2 separate regions of the Homo sapiens genome follow, and region 2 is linked to region 1. The links are contacts of gene promoters, found by promoter capture Hi-C in human tissues and cell types (Jung and others, 2019). All regions are on one chromosome and are shown on one strand. The core of a region is centred on a gene start or on the middle of the fragment in contact, and the rest is flanking DNA. Distances in the headings are between cores, read along the strand shown.

The links. Contacts are between HindIII fragments. The study calls those that stand out against the background at their distance.
Region 2: a contact is called between a fragment that was not itself captured here and the fragment with the promoter of ZNF587 in region 1, in 1 of the 25 tissues and cell types used here (bladder).

What each region holds. Positions count from the first base shown.
Region 1 is chr19:57,848,080-57,851,145 of GRCh38, forward strand. It overlaps ZNF587 (zinc finger protein 587), which reads left to right and starts at 1,780. Exons shown (of 3, transcript NM_032828.4): 1 at 1,780-1,992. The coding sequence starts at 1,960. LOC124904782 (a long non-coding RNA gene) reads right to left here. Exons shown (of 2, transcript XR_007067358.1): 2 at 2,236-2,482. RefSeq lists enhancers at 1,378-1,487, 1,558-1,617, 1,788-2,027, 2,078-2,167, 2,222-3,066. The HindIII fragment of the contact is 32,917 bases long and covers 1-3,066 here.
Region 2 is chr19:57,784,533-57,787,410 of GRCh38, forward strand. No RefSeq gene overlaps it. Among named protein-coding and RNA genes, the nearest start is that of ZNF586, 16 kb to the left of the region's middle. RefSeq lists enhancers at 1,226-1,845, 1,846-2,464. The HindIII fragment of the contact is 4,625 bases long and covers 1-2,878 here.

The sequences.
Region 1 (3,066 bases), core at 530-3,029:
TCAGGCGATTCTCCTGCCTCAGCCTCCCGAGTAGCTGGGACTACAGGTGTCTGCCACCATGCCCAGCAATTTTTTTAACATGGGTTTTGCTGTGTTAGCCAGGATGGTCTTGATCTCCTGACTTCATGATCTGTCCACCTCGGCCTCCCAAAGTGCTGGGATTACAGGCGTGAGCAACCGTGCCCGGCTAATTTTTTTATTTTTATTAGAGATGGGGTTTCACCATATTGGTCAGGCTGGTCTCGAACTCCTGACCTCATGATCCACCTGACTCAGCCTCCCAAAGTGTTGGGATTATAGGCATGAGCCACTGCACCCAGCAATTTATTTATTTTTTATTTTTTATTTTTTTTGAGACAGAGTCTCACTCCTGTTGCCCAGGCTGGAGTGCAATGGCATGATCTCGACTCATCGCAACCTCCACCTCCAGGGTTCAAGTAATTCTCCTACCTCAGCCTCCCGAGTAGCTGGAATTGGAGGCATGCAGCACCATGCCTGGAAAATTTTGTACTTTCAGTAGAGACACGGTTTCTCCATGTTGGCCAGGCTGGTCTCGAACTCCCGACCTCAGGTGATCCACCTGCCTTGGCCTCCCAAAGTGCTGGGATTACAGGTGTGAGCCACCATGTCTGGCCTTTATTTTTATTTTTTGTGGGTATATAGTAGTGTATATATTTGTAGATTACATTAGATATTTTGATGTAGCCATGCCATATGTGATAATCACATAGGGTAAATGGGGTCTCAGTCACCTCAACATTTATCCTCTGTATTATAAACAGTCCAGTTATACTCTTTTAGTTATTTTTAAATATATAATTAAATTATTTTGACTATAGCCACCCTGTTATGGTAGCAAATATTAGGTCTTATTCATTTTTGCTCACTGTTTTTTGTACCCATCCTGTCATCATGTCTTATGGAGAATTTTCTTTTGTTCCCAACAAAACAATGAAACTCGCAAAACTGACTGTAATGATTCAGTCTACGTGAATTTAAAGAGCAATCAATACTTAATGTTCTCAGCTCTGAGTGCACACATTGTAAGTCTGAATGATGCCAATGATATGGCCACTTAGATAAGTAAAGTTTGGGAGCATCTCAAATAGTATTTTTATTCTCTGGGTGCAGGATGAGCTTCCTAGAGTCTGATGTGATACCTATTTGATGCTTTTACAAAGAATCAATAATCTTCCTCCTTTGAGGTGTGAGCAGGGCTTTCCAGCAGCCCTCAGAATGTAACATGGTCTGCATTCGGTTTGCTCTTGGAGGATACCACCATTGTTGGCTGAGAGCTCTGGGAAGTACTTTACCCAGAAGGCGCTAGTTGCAAGGCCCAGGATGAGGGATTTCTGGGCATGCTTGTCAGGCCAGGGAGTACTGGGTTGGGACTGAGAAGGCACAAGAGGAGTAGTCATCTCTGCTCCCAAGTGGCAGGTCTGAGGCTCATAGGCACTGGCTGGGGTGATGCCTGCTCCACCCACAGTTGATGGCAGCAGCCACACTGAGGGACCTAGCTCAGGTAAATGCTGTGTATTACAGGCTTCACCCCAGCTAGAGTAATACAGGTAGAGGAACCAATAGGTACAAAGGCTTGGAGGTGCATCTGAGCCATGAACATTTCAGAACCTGGTAACCATGTTGTGTCATGGAAAGTGGGGAACTACATTACCCAGAAAGCTCTGCTTTAAACGACAGCCGGTCAGAGCCAGTGAGCACTCGGAAAGAAGGCATTTCCACGTGTGCACGTAACGTAAGGCCGAGACTTCCGGGGTCTCTAGTAGCGGCTGTGTATCGGCGATGCGGGTGTTTCCCCAGTTTGTGGCCCCTGAGTGCTGGGTGGGACCGCGGTGACTGAACCTAGAAGGTGGAGAGGAATCGTCCTCGGTGCCCAGAGGCGGCTCTGCAGCCCCGTGACGGCGACCACTGCTCCCGGGCCGTGCTTCCCCAAGTAGTCCGATGGCAGCGGCTGTGCCGAGGCGCCCAACTCAGGTAATTGTGGTGCCTTCTGTGCCCTCAGGTCACCCCATCGTCACCCAGGTCCTAAACCAGCGAGGGAGCGGCTCCTGCTCGTGGGTCTGTAGCCGGTACCCGGCGTAGGAACACTGAGGCGCTCACAGGAGGCCTCTCCTTGTAACCGTCCAGTGGGTTCACGTTGCCAGCTGCCTAGACAGAGCCGATTTATGAAGACTGGGGAATTGCGATGGAGAAATAGTAATTCACGCAGAGCCGTCCTGCTGTTCGGGAGACAGGAGTTTTATTATTCAAATCAGTCTCCCTGAGCATTCTGGGATCAGAGTTTTCAAAATTTGGCGGGTAGGGGCTTGGGAAGTGGGGAGTGCTGATCAGTCTGGTTGGAGATGGATTCATAGGGGGTTAAAGTGAGTTTTTCATGCTGTTTTCTGTTCTGGGTGGGATGGCAGAACTGATTGACCCAGATTACCGGTCTGTGTGTTGTCCGCTGATCCATCCAGTGCAGGATCTGCAAAATGCCCCAAGCACTGATCTTAGATATTGGGGAAACCAGCCCCACACCACCCAGCAGATACCCCGAGTCCTGCGGAGACAAAGGAGTTAGAAAGAGACAGAATACGCATTTAAAAGGCGGGTCCAGGTGGCCAGAGCATTGGAGGCTTCCTGGCGGCCCAGAGCTCTTGGGCTCCACCCAGTTTATTGGTTTACAAGCTCTTTGTTCTTATGGCTGATTGGAGGGGGAGGAAGCGATCAGGAAAAGGATTAATCAGTAAAGGAGAACTCGTGAGTCATTCCATAAGATGTAAAGCACTGGCCGTTTCTGTGAATTTCCTTGAACAAAGGCGTGTGTCTAAACTACTTAAGATCTTTAACTTAACTGAAACGGGTGGCTGCGGGTTTCAGGAGGAGCCAAGATGTTTGATTATGCTCCACTGCTTCAAGGGAGTGTGATCTCCCTGAGCAACCCATGGAATGCTGCTGAAGAGTTATGCTCTCGGGGCATAAAGACATGAAGGCAATAAGGAGACTTTTCTCCTCAGAGGCCGCCCATGGCTTCCCATGGGTGTCTCACACAGGGGAGACCAACTCAAC
Region 2 (2,878 bases), core at 245-2,744, 64 kb before region 1:
ATGGCTCTGTAGTCCCAGCTTCTCAGAAGGCTGAAACAGGAGGATTACATGAGCTCGAGTTTGAGTAAGGCCTGGGCGACATAGTCTCTTTAAAAAAATTCAGTTCATGCGGGTGCGGTGGCTCACGCCTGTAATCCCAGCACTTTGGGAGGCTGAGGCAGGCGGGTTGCCTGAGCTCAGGAGTTCGAGACCACCCTGGGCAAGACGGTGAAACCCTGTCTCTACTAAAATACAGAAAATTAGCCGGACGAGCCGGCATGTGCCTGTAGACCCAGCTACTCAGGAGGCTGAGGCAGGAGACTTGCTTGAACCCGGGAGGCGGAGGTTGCAGTGAGCCGAGATGTGCTACTGCACTCCAGCCTGGGCGACAGAGTGAGACTCATCTCAAATAAATAAGATAATAAAATCCAGTTCAGTAAAATGTGCCTGATAAAATATAAGTGACTACTGGCCTGGAGCAGTGGCTCACGCCTGTAATCCTAGCACTTTGAGAGGCCAAGGCAGGTGGATCACCTGAGGTCCGGAGTTTGAGACCAGCCGAGTCAACATGGTGAAACCCTGTCTTTACTAAAAAATACAAAAATTAACTGGGTGTGGTGGCACATTCCTGTAATCCTGGCTACTTGGGAGGCTGAGGCAGGAGAATTGCTTGAACCCTCCGGGCGGAGGTTGCAGTGAGCTGAGATCACACCACTGCACTCCAGCCTGGGCGACAGGGCAAGACACCGTCTCAACAAAACATATATATAAGTAATGAATGAATATTATGTCAATATTCTAAGTCAGAATGTTACTGTAATACTTTTTAATTCTCATTCCATTTAAAATAACTGGTTAATTTTCAAATCATAATGAAATTTTTACAAATTTATGTGTAGTACAAAGCATGCATATACATTCATATGTATTATATGTATATATAGCCTTTAAAAATATTTATGAGCTTTATGCCGGGCGCGGTGGCTCACGCCTGTAATCCTAGCACTTTGGGAGGCGGAGGCGGGCGGATCACGAGGTCAGGAGATCAAGATCATCCGGGCTAACACAGTGAAACCCCGTCTCTACTAAAAATACAAAAAAATTAGCCGGGCATGGTGGGCACCTGTAGTCCCAGCTACTCGGGAGGCTGAGGCAGGAGAATGGCGTGAACCCGGGAGGCGAAGCTTGCAGTGAGCCGAGATCGCGCCACTGCACTCCAGCCTGGGCTACAGAGCCAGACTCCGTTCTAAAAAAAAAAAAAAAAAAAAAAAAAAAAAAATATATATATATATATATATATATATATATATATATATACACACACACACACACACACTAGCTTTAGCTTCCAGTAGATGCAATTTATGTCTTTATGACCCTATGTAATGAAATGTCCATTTTGATTCGTGGCTCTTGATGGCATCTCAAATGATGTCTTAGATCTGCGAAGAAGCTCAGCATCACAAATTCTGAAATAAGTCTCCAAACACACGGGTAATCGGTTGCACACAGTACCCGCAGAAATGCGCGTATGGCCTCTTCTAAGATGGGGGAGCCTCCTCTGCAACTGGACCTGGAGTTGCCATTTCCTAACGCCCGTCGCGGTGGAGCTTAGCCCCTTCTTCCGAAAGTCAGGTTGGAGGCGGCCTTTAAGCGCCGCGCGTCTCTCGGAACTTAAATATTACCCGGAATCGTCTCTGTGAATTGGAAAGCCCATTGAAGCCTCAGAGAAGCCGCGCCATTGCGGAGGCACGTAACGTCAAGCAGGGACTTCCTGCGTCCTCGCCGCGGTGGCCATTTTGGCTTGTCGGGACCATCCACCTATGCTGCGTCTGTACCTCTTTGTCAGGACCGAGAGCGCGCGAGAGGAGTGGTTGTGCCCATTGCACACAGGCGGATCTGAGGCTTGGCGACGCCGCTGGTCGCGACCTGGGACAGGACGAGCACAGGAACCGCCTGGCCTGCGTCCCCGCCCGCGCATGAAGTCGTGGCGGCGGCCGCTCAAGTGAGCCCTGCGACCTCCAGGCCTCACCCGCCATCCCCACACAGACCCTGAGACCCCTGACTGTGAGGGGCGCTTCCTCGCGTCCTTGCAGCTCAGGCCTCTGTCAGGGACCTAGAGGCGCCGGCGGGTGGAATCCCTGTTTCCGACACCGGTTGATGCGGTCGGGAGAGCGAGACTGGCCGAGGGACCGGCTTAGGCAAAGGCCTGGAGGCACGACTGCGCCAGGAGGATTCGGAACACAGGGACATCTTGTGTCCACTGAGAACAAAGTATGAGTCGGAGTTATTTCCTCAGTACCAGGCTGAGGATTGATCTTTGTGAGGACCGTAGAAGCCATGGACAGTTTTGAACAAAGGAGGAAATCTGTGTTAGAGTTAAAGATTCCGAAAAGATGTTCAAAGGAAGAACGGAGTGTAAGGCGGTGATGAGGACAGTGAGGCATTGAGAGGTTGAATATTTGCTCAAGGTCACGTAGCTGGTAAGAGGTGACATTGAGCACTGGGCCACAAGATTAGAGACTCAGCCTGAGGTCACCTGGCTACAGGGCCAAAAAAAGCTTACAGAGAAACCTGAGTCTATCAAATCCCAGCAGGGACACATTCCTGAAAGCTCCGCCTTTTGGCACACCTTCTCATGGCTATGGAAGTATTTAAGGAACCCACAGAAGGAAGTATAGGATGCTCTAGTCCCTCACTGGTCCTCATCCTCACCTATATGTCTAGATCTTAATGTCCTGGGAATTTATTTATTTAGCGACAGAGTGTCACTCTTGGTACCCAGGTTGGAGTGCAGTGACGCGATCATGGCTCAGCATAGTCTTGACCTCCCCAGGCTCAGGTGATCCTCCCATCTCAGTCTCCCGAGAAACTGGCTAATGTTTGTGTTTTTAATAGA